Regions from separate parts of the Homo sapiens genome. Here region 2 is linked to region 1. The links are contacts of gene promoters, found by promoter capture Hi-C in blood cells and fetal thymus (Javierre and others, 2016). All regions are on one chromosome and are shown on one strand. The core of a region is centred on a gene start or on the middle of the fragment in contact, and the rest is flanking DNA. Distances in the headings are between cores, read along the strand shown. Region 1 holds the start of BACE2 (beta-secretase 2). Region 2 overlaps MX2 (MX dynamin like GTPase 2).

Region 1 (4,973 bases), core at 1,494-3,993:
TGGTGGGTGGGGATTCCTGGGAAAGCACACCTAAAGCACAGAGCGCAGTGCTTGTCACGTACTGAGCTTTCAGACATTGTCTATGACTATTACTTAATTCTTGAAAAATTCTTGGTTATTTATTGCTTGAATTTACAATTCCATTTTTCTCTCCACCTAAGCAATTTTTATTTTAGGCTTCAGAGAATCAGCAGAGAATAAATGCATGACTCCTGGCCATTAATAGAGCAGGAAAGCTCACTCCAGGTTCAGAAGTCACCTCACTGCTGCCCCCTCTAGCCGGCTGCTGACACCCTGCTGGTGGTCAGAGACATTTCAGGGCAACACAGGCAGGTAGTGAATCCTAATGCAGTAGTCAGGAAAGCCTGACTTTACAGTAGGCATTTGGAAAGATTTGGTTATAAAGCAGCTTATCGCTAAATCAAGCCAGGAGGGAGGTACAGGATATTTCATTCCCCATCACATGTAAAAATTAAATCTGTCTCTGTAGAAGCAGCGCTCCCTGGAAACATGCTAATGGTTGAGAAGTAATCTTGAACCAACTACTGCCTTGGCTACGGTAAAGACAGGAGCCTAGGTACTCAATACATTTCTGTTAATTAAATTAATTAAACCTCATCATTTTAAAATAAAGGTCATTGAATTAATTAACAGGCAAGTTATTATTTATAAAAGCTTTTTTTTTTTGATTGCCAAAGTTAAGTATTTTTTAGTCCTTCTTCAGGCTTCTCCCTTTCCCCTTTGCTCTGGAGGGAGGGTTTCAGGGCTTCTTTTATCATAGCCCTCAGACCACCCACATTTACTTTTAGTAGAGAGAATTCCCTCGCATCAAAGCACACATGTCCAATGGGGATTCATTCAAGGCCTGTTCCAAAAGATTCTCTGCAGGTCACAGAAGAGGTTCTTCCTCAATATCTTGTCATATTTCCAAGGTTCTCAGCACCAGGCACATGTTCCCACGTGTTGGCTGCACCAAGACCACATCTTACAGCCAAGTTAAGCTCCCTCAGCTGATGGGGATTCCTATTCCCTCCCTCTAACCATCCACTCCTGGAGATGGCAAAGATCACTCACGTGGCTTCCCATGACTTAGACGAAAGGCAACTAGAATCAAAGTTTGAATATACGCTTTTGAAGGTTTTTTTTTCCCCCTAAACTAATTAAACAACTACAGAAGTTATTCGGCAGTTTCCTTTTTTAAAAGAATTAGCATGGCATGTCTTTCCTCTTAAAGTCTTGAATAATTTAATGAGAATTATACAAAAGTCATGAGTATGTTCTATTTATGGGGGAATCATAGCTGAATCAAAACCCAAATGACAATGTTAAAAATAAAAATAAACTATCTTCAAATAGTGCATTCAATTGAGCAAAGGACTTCAAATCCCACTTGGATTAGACAGTTTGAAAGTAGGAGGGGGCAGATCAATTGGGATTTTTTTTTTTTTTTTTTCAGATCACTGTGCTTGGGAACATTTGTTTCTTGCTACAAAAAGTGTTAGTAAATGAACATCAGAGTAAGAGAAAAGGAAAGCTGTTTGATTTTATTTTTGTGTTGTAATCGGGATACCACTTGGTCCCCGGACACCTCACTCAGCCCCTGTTTTTTTCCCGGTAGCTGGAATGCTTTTCACACTCTGCACACCCGCGTGTAGATGCATCGCTCCGTGCAGAGGGGCAGGGCCGCCGGATGAGCGAGGACACAGCTGACAAACCAACTCCGAGAAAGGAAAGCGGGCGCAGGGGAGACGCTGCTCCTTCCTCAGAGCAGCAAGCGAGCCACTTCTTAACCGGGTTGCTTTTAGCTGAGCTCATGCATAAATCCTTTTTAAAGGGTACTGCGCCTTTGGAAGCCGGCCACGAGCCTCTTTAGCAATGAGACAGCATGGTGGTGGGGTGGGGGGGGGGCGGGGGGGAGGGAGGGTATGAACACGAGGTGATTTTCCCCATAATAGCCCGTCGCCCAAGGCCCACCGCTCCGTCTCCCGCTGGAAGTAGGTGTCGCCCGCAAGAAGGAAATCACGTTATTGGAGGCGGCAAGTTCCAGGTCTCCTCTCCCGCCCAGCCCCGCGGAGGGGGAGCTCACAAGTTCTGAAACACTCGCGCACACCCCTCAGTGCGCCCCGGGCGGGGGCTGCCGTCCTCCGCGACTCAAGAGCGAGCGCCCCCGCTCCCCGGCCCACCCGAGCCCCTCTGCGTTCCCCGCTCTTCTGTGCGGGGACAGCTGCTGCTTTGGGGGCGACGCTAAGCCGCGTGGAGGCGTCTCTGGACAGCCCCCTCCCTCCAACGAGCCCGAAAAGCCCGCGGCAGCAGCCGGGGGTCCCTACCTTCTGCGGGGGGGTCCCGATCAGCATCTCCAGGTAGTAGCCGCGGCCAGAGTCCCCCTGCAGGTTGTCTACCATGGCCAAGAAGTTGGCGGCGCCCGCGGGGGACGCCAGGGCAGGCTCCAGGGCGAGCGCCAAGCCGTCGGCGTGGCGCTCGGCAGGGGTCCCGGGTCCCGGGGTGGGCGCAACTACGCGGTTCGTGGCCGCGGCCACCCGGAGGGGCAGCGTGAAGGGCGCGGGGGCCAGCTCCGGGGCGGCGCGCAGGAGCCACTGGGCCAGCAGAGGCAGCAGCAGCGCCCGGGCCAGTGCGCCCATGCCCACGGCGGGGCCCGGGGGGCGCGCCCAGCCTAGCCGGTCCCGTCCCGTCCGGCAGCCGCGGCTCAGCGACTCGGCCGGCGCGCGGGGCTGCGGGCAGGGATGGGCGCGCACCGGGACCGGCGGCGGCGGGGAGGACGGGAGGAGGGCCCAGGGGAGGAGGCTCGCGGGAGGGGAGGAGGCTCGCGGGAGGGGAGAAGGCGGAGGCCGGGGAGGCGGGCGCGGAGGCGCAGAGCCGCCCCAGCCCGCGCCGCCAAGTTGGGCAAGTTCTTCTCCGCTGCCCCCTCTGGCGGCCGCGACTGCCCCGCAGCGGCCCAGCCCCTCCCCCGCGGCCAAGGTCACAGCGGGGCTCGGGGGGCGCCGGGGTCCACCTGCGCCTGCCCTCCCCACCCTCGCCGGGCTCAGGCCGCGCCTCTTCCCCGGGAAACTCGAGTCCCGAATTTCCTCGGAAAGCGCCCCAGCGGCCACGGCCAACGGATGTGACGAGGCTCATCTGATACCGGGGGGAAAGTTTCGAGAACCCTTAAAGGGGCAGCGAGGGCCTGAACTAGGGCCCCGGCCCCGCGCGCTTGGGGGTCCGCGGGGGTCTATTCGCCCGGCAGTGGCGGGAGCTTCCGGGGGTGACTCGGAGGTCAGCGAGGAGAGCGGTGGATCGGGAAGGAGCCTGGAGCCTCGCGCGCCTTTCCGAGCCTGCGCCTCCCCTCGCCAAGCTCCTCCGCCTCATTTCAGTCGCCGGGTCTGGCTGCTTTCGAGGCGTTTCCCGTCCGCTGCCCCCGAGCCCCCGCCCTCAGTCCAGCCCGTTCCCCGGCCTCATCCCCCGGCGGCCCCTGGGTGGTTTTAAAGAGGTCTCAGTGGAGGCTGGGAGGGTGGAGGGTGGAAGGAGGCAGAGGAGGATGCGAGAGCTTTGGAGAATTTTCCCTAAAAATCGGGGGAGGTGGGGGGCGTGGCTGCTGCTGGCGCCTGGCCCCAGCCTCATTGCCCCCCCTTACTCCCTCTGTTGCCCACAGCTAGCTGCGAAGCTGGGCTTCACCCCAGCCACCTTCCCCCCACCCCCGCCCCCTTCGCCCCCTCCGCCGCGCCCCTGTCCCTAATGCAGGTCAGATGCTACTGGAACCCGCTGCCTCCCCTGGCACCCAGCCCTCAGGCCACCTAGTAAGTTGCTGTCAGGATCCCAAATCAGGGCCACGAGTCCACCCTGCTGTGATCCCTGCCCTTCTCCCCCACCTCCCCTTCTATCCCCAGCCAGCTCTCTGCGGACTGTCTAATTAATACTCGTTTAGCCATAGACGCCAAGACGCAGAAATGCGTTGAGTAATGCAAGCAACGAGGGTTATTTTATTTTAGATACTAAAGGCAGGGGGGACAATTAGACAAGCTAAAGTCCATCGATTTCTACAGAAACAAGGAATAGAAAATTCTTTGTACCTCCTCCAGCTGAATTATGTTGGCTGTTTTAAAAAACAAACAAGCCCATCTTCAAACAGTGGGGAGTTAGAAGCCAAGCTTCCCCGAATCACTGCAATTTTCAGCTACTTCTACTCAAGATTTGATTTTTATTCCTGTGTTCCCAATTTTAGAATCACGTCTAGCTCTGCAAGGGACCTTTATGTCAGAGATCTTCAAATGTATTGATTTTCAGATGACTTTAACCATAAATCACACTTCCCCCAAACTATATCTCAACTTTAACAAATCCCCAACTCCATGAAGAAAGGCATAGCTGGATCCCGTGATATAACTTAAGTTGATATTCTCCATAAATCTGCATAGTTATTCCAGAGCCCTTCTATTCATATATTCACGTTTCAGATTCAAGGTTGTGGAGGGAATGTGATTTTTTTTAAAATGATTATTTATACTCCTTGGTGTCCAGTCTTGAGGGGTTCAAAAAGACATTCAGACAGCTCTGGGAAGAATATAATCTTTCTGAAAAGCACATGAAATGTATTAGGGCCATTGATAAAGAGGCTATGTGACATATAAGTTTAATACTAGAGACATTTGCTCTGTCTAATAATTAAAAGCCACAAGGGAAATTTTTAAAAAATCAAGTCTAATTAAAGTTTGTACAAGAAACGCGTGACTCAGTCTAGGGTGAGTATTCCTAAGCTTTTCATTTTAAGAGGGATGGTTTGGGTTTGTGGGGAAAAGGATGCATAAAGATCCAGGGATGGAGGAGCACACAGGCTTCCATGGATGGCAGAGCTGTCTTGTCAGAAAATAATGCAAGCTGAAGGGACAGCATTGGGTGACTGTCTCCTTGGTTGTCTCTGTTTTCATGAATGGTCTTAGAGCATATGATCCCTATTCAAGCCTATGGTGCTGGGTGGATTT
Region 2 (4,973 bases), core at 993-3,492, 200 kb before region 1:
CCATGAGCCTTCCTAGCTAAATTACTCCATAATTGTTTGCATCATGGAAAAGGTAAATTAAGTTTTACATGCAATGCATATTGGTCAGGAAATTTTCTGGAATTGGCCCAGGAAGTGGTAGAGTCCTATCTCATCTGCAACCAATATAACCCAGGCAAGACTGTAAAGGTGAGACAGGATTCAGAGCCATGGGTTCATGATAGCAAGTCTACCTCTTGCTAGACTTTCTATTCTCAGCATGGACAATACCTATCTTCCTATCAAAAGATTATAGACTTACTGTCCTGGAGGGTCCTTCTTCTAACACAGACACTTCACTGTCTGAATCACCCTCGGTGTTCGCAAAATACAAAATCAATCACACACTGAAGCTGAAATTCCCTAACTATAAAAAACCCTCCATCTCTCTGGGCTTTGAGTTTTGCCACCAGCTTTATTGGCCGTGCGGTCTTGGCCTCTATCTGTAAGCAGAAGATGTGGCTCACCCAAAGTCACATCATGCACTGGTGACAGCCGGGGCTCCTGGGCCTGGCAGACACCCCGCTTGCCACACCCAATTTATCTGCCTCAGCTCCTTAAGGAGCTGCTTAAGGAGTAAGCAGAAGATTACTCCTTAACTCCTAGGTCGAGGATATAATAGGCTATTGGCGTGACCGTCTCTGAGTGCTCACTTAGTCCAGCACCCCATGAGATCATAACCAGATGCTGTACATGACCAGGAGTAACTCCAGCAAGGCCTGGCTCTGCTCCATTTCATGTACGCAGTTAAGCATTGTCAAGGATTAGCCTCACACACCAAGTCTCGTGCCCAAAGGAAATGCCAGCCAGAGGAAATGCCGGCCAGACTTTTCTGACCTCCAGCCTGGTGTGGGTCCGCTGGAAGAGACCTCAAGGCAAAAACTTTTCAGACCTCTTTGGAAGGAGCCATTTCAGGTCCTCCTAGCAAATGCCAGGGCAGTCAAGATCCAAGGTGTTGACCCAAGTACTCAAGAGTCAGTAGAAACAGGCAACAAACCCAGACCAATGGATCAGCTCAAATGACCTCAAACCAACACTAACCACAAAAGCCTCCAGATGCAAAAACTAAGAGCTATGGACCAAGCAGTCGGCTTTGGGAGTGGACAGCTTCACTCGAGATGACGAGACCAGATAATGATTGAACTTCTTGTGACTCCCACCACAGTGGATTTCTTTGTGTGTATTTTTAAACATTATACTCATGGCTATTCTCTCTTTTTCAGGATCAGATTTCAATCCTGCAACCACGTTTTCTAATTTACTTGTTTTTGTCTTCTTCCTCCCTCCTTCAGACCAAAACACATTTTCTCCTAGCCCACCCTAAGAATGACTCAGCAGTCCATTTGGAAATCTTGCCTCTTGCTGGATCTGCCACCCATTTCCAACTCCAGGAACCACACAAATCGTGAGCATTCCCCTACTGAATTCCACGCCATACATTTTCCAACACATAATTCCAACACATAATTACCTTAAGATCCATAGAATAAGTATTCTTATGCCCAGACACACATAGGCTGCCATAATCACTCCTACCATAAAACACAACCCGCATGGCCGCGGTCTGGGGGAAATGATCCTGCCTCCTATATGAGCACCCTGATGCTTTTCACATCCCTTTAGATCTGCTCTCAATTTCACTGAAGGCAATGTTACCACATACTTACATTTCTCATGAACAGATTTTTGCTTCCAACTCTTCTCCGCTCATGAAATACTGTTATACAAACAATAGAACCATTTGCAAGAGAAATATGCATGAAGAAAAATGTCCACGTGCAGGAAGGCAAGACTGTTTAGTTGCCACGGAAGTGGTCATCGCCGTTTGCTGAAACAGAGCTCATGGGAAACTTTTCTCTCCGAACAACCCCACACCGCCCCACTCCAACGGTGCCACGGGAGGGCCCCTTTCCTTACATGGTGCCAATGCACCCCCATGCTGGCCCGAGGACCGTCATCGTACTTTGGGGGCTCCTAGCGATACAATCTCAGGATTCAGCTCCTCTCCTGTCCCATTTCCTCTGCTCGTCACAGCTTTCACAGAAGTAGCTTTGCTGGAAGTGTTAGAGCCGCAGGTTCCAACAATTAACTTGAAGGTCTTTCACCTTGGTAGTGGTTCCGGATTTACGGCTATCACAGGCTTATCCCTTGCTCTGGGTGGAATGACACAGCCCAGGAAAAGAACCTTTACCCACCCGCCATGGTGGGACGGACGACCATCCAGCTTTGGGCCACGCAAGTCGTGGGCGGAGCTCTGGGGAACACTTCCTGTTGCTTTGCTACCCTCGTCGAGTCTAGCAAAACAATCTCCACATGCAAACACTGGCTTTCCAAAGTAGAGAGCAGAGCTTGGAATCTTTTCTGGCTAAAGGCAGGCTGAGGGGGACGCGGGCTTCCTGGAAGTTCCCCGACTTTGCTGATGGGACTGTCCCCTGCTTGCTGCACAGCCACGGCGGGGCGGGAGCGGGGGCGGGGGCGGGGGGCAGGGGTGCGGCGGGCAGGGAGGTCCCCGCTATTGTGGAGGGAGGAGAGTGACTGATCGCAAGGCTCTGTGCTGGATGCGGCATCATCCCCCATGCAGGGTGGCCCTGGCTTCTACCGAAGGTGGCTGCTGAGAGCGCCCTGCAGGAAGGCCCCAGGGGCACCAGAGTCCCAGAGCAGCACCTCACTTCTCGGGAATACCCCTTCCAGAAACCCTGAGGCCAGCCCAGCACTCCCACCTGCTGGCCCAGCAGCTCTCAGCGGCTTTCCTCCCTTGGGACAGAGACTGCTTACACTGCCGGGCTCAAAAACCTGCCCCGTGCCCCGGCCAGCCTCATCCCCAGATGTCACCCTGTGATGACCTGGACTGCCCTCTCTGCAGTGGAATCTTCACTAGGACCCTCTGTCTCAGCGTTTCCTAATGAGCTCTTGCCCAGTCTTGCATCCTCCCCGCGCAGCCTCAGAGGGGCGGATCTTCCAGCAGAGCCAGCGGCTCCTGAGCTCAGCAGCCCCACCTGGGGTCCCTCCTCACTGGGAGGAAAGACCATGGTTGTGTGAATGGCCCCGCCGCCGCTCAGCCTTCAGCTCCTGTTCTCCAGCCTGGCTCCCAGAGGTCCAGGTCCACAGGCCTCCTGCACCCCCCTCCTCCCATGGGGGCTGAAAGCACTTCCTGTTTTCAGAACTAGCCCTGGGTTCGTAAAACGTTTTCTGATGTGAAATCCTTGAAACCAGAAGGGCTAGGCAGCAATTTTATGGGATCACTGAGAGATGAGTCCATCTAAAGTTGGCACAAACAGCTCCTAGCCCTACGGAGACTTTCTCAGGGGGTACAGGAGGGCTTGGCCAGGACCCAGCAGCTCGGTGGGCCTGGTGGCACCCACCCTAGCAAGTGAGATCTCAGGTGGCCTCACTCCACCCATCTGTCTGGGAGGGAGCCTGGGACTCTGAACCCCTAGCCACAATATCCTTCAAAGGCTGAGAGCTGGAGCCAGCTGCCCTTGGTGACGAAGTCAGGGGTCCAGGAACAAAACCGAGTGCTGATGGGAGGTGATAACTCAGCCTCAACTTCTTCCTCTCCATGGGAAGAAAGAACAAGGGAAAGGAGGGTTCCTTTTGTGAAGCCCAATATTCTTCATTTCATGTTCCTTTTAAAACATATTTAAAACTGTCGCCACCCTCACCCTCACCCTCATTTTCATGAAGGGCAGGTCTTGCTAAGCGTATCATGAGCTGATTAAGTTTGAGAGGACAGGAGCTGGGCACAGATTGCTCTGCAAAATAAAGGGGTGAAAAGTTGCAGGGGTGAACATGTGTGAAGGTCGGAGGCAGGAGTGAGCCGTGGGGTGACATGTAGGGGATGAGAATTCCCTCAGTCCCCCTCCCCATTGCAGTTTAGGGAGGATTTTCTGACACGGGCCTGTTGAGTAAGGAATGTAGGTTTCGGGTTGTCTGGTGTGTGCCTGGTGAACCATCTGTCTCCCCTGCACAATCTTCAGAAATGGCTACAGTGTGTCTGTGTGAGTGGACTGTCTCGGGAGCCTGTCGGCTGGCTGGGTGCCCCTGCAGGCTCACGGAGACGACACGGAAGAGCCGGGTGACACATGGACAGGTGGGACTTGGGCTATGCACAGAGGCAGGAGGGAATGAAAGTGGGGGGCTTAAGAGGCTTAGGGGTGCAGGCCTCTGCTTTCAGGAGCCGCTGCACTGTGGGTTCCTCTCCAGGGCTTGGTCCCCACGTGGGAGCTTCCGCAGCCCAGTATAAATGCAGAGCATGGGAGCTGTGGACCTTGACTTGAAGAGAAAGTGCAGGTCTTGAGAGAGGGGAACTGAAAAACCAAGAAGACAGCTGGTGAGAGAAGAGGAGAAAAGAGAAGACAAGGTGGCTGTCAGGGTGCAGCAGACAGCCAAGTTAAGAGTTAAGACAAAGATGAGGAACAGGGTGAGGTCAGAATCCAGGAGGGAGCTACTGAGGGCCAGGTCGGGGGTGACGGATCCAAGGAAGGACAGCAAGGCCTTGATAAGATGCAGTGGACCCAGAGGAGAGGTGAGGCCAGCTGGCTCTGTACTGCTGAGCCGCAGGATTTGGAGTTGCTGTCAACTTCGAGGCTGCTGTTAAACCAGGGGGCTGCCAAATATTTTCAAGCGGTGACCAGGCCAGGAGTCTGAAGACTAAGAAGCATGCATTCTGGATGAATTGAAAATCGGTAAGAAAATAGGAGGGGATCCTTTTTTCTTAGAGGATCAAGCTTGGAAAGTCCCTCCTTCTGACTGAGAAAAAAAAGGGATTTGGTTTATTGCAGCTCCCACACTAGCAGGCTGCTTTGCATCTTCCAGTTTTAGCCATTGCCGGGTTCTGCATCAGACACTTTCCTATAACATTACCATCTTATTCAGGTTTCCCCGTAGAATCATTCACTGAAAAACAGCCACTTAACATGGTCCTGCCTGCCTCCCAGGAGTGTCAAAAGAAAATG

What was found. The method cuts DNA at HindIII sites, captures the fragments that hold promoters and counts their contacts. A CHiCAGO score of 5 or more calls a contact.
Region 2: a fragment that was not itself captured here is called in contact with the fragment with the promoter of BACE2 in region 1 in 1 of 17 cell types (total B cells); the score reaches 5.3 in total B cells.

The regions. Positions count from the first base shown.
Region 1 is chr21:41,165,930-41,170,902 of GRCh38, reverse strand. It overlaps BACE2 (beta-secretase 2), which reads right to left and starts at 2,743. Exons shown (of 9, transcript NM_012105.5): 1 at 2,328-2,743. The coding sequence starts at 2,639. MIR3197 (microRNA 3197) reads right to left here and starts at 3,346; the gene lies at 3,274-3,346. RefSeq lists a silencer at 2,735-3,184. The HindIII fragment of the contact is 3,467 bases long and covers 678-4,144 here.
Region 2 is chr21:41,367,358-41,372,330 of GRCh38, reverse strand. All of the region lies in intron 1 of MX2 (MX dynamin like GTPase 2), which reads right to left. Among named protein-coding and RNA genes, the nearest start is that of MX2, 7.8 kb to the right of the region's middle. RefSeq lists enhancers at 2,007-2,216, 2,150-2,294, 2,169-2,855, 3,087-3,146, 2,856-3,544 and 3 more, a cis regulatory region at 2,222 and a silencer at 3,407-3,456. The HindIII fragment of the contact is 5,010 bases long and covers 1-4,747 here.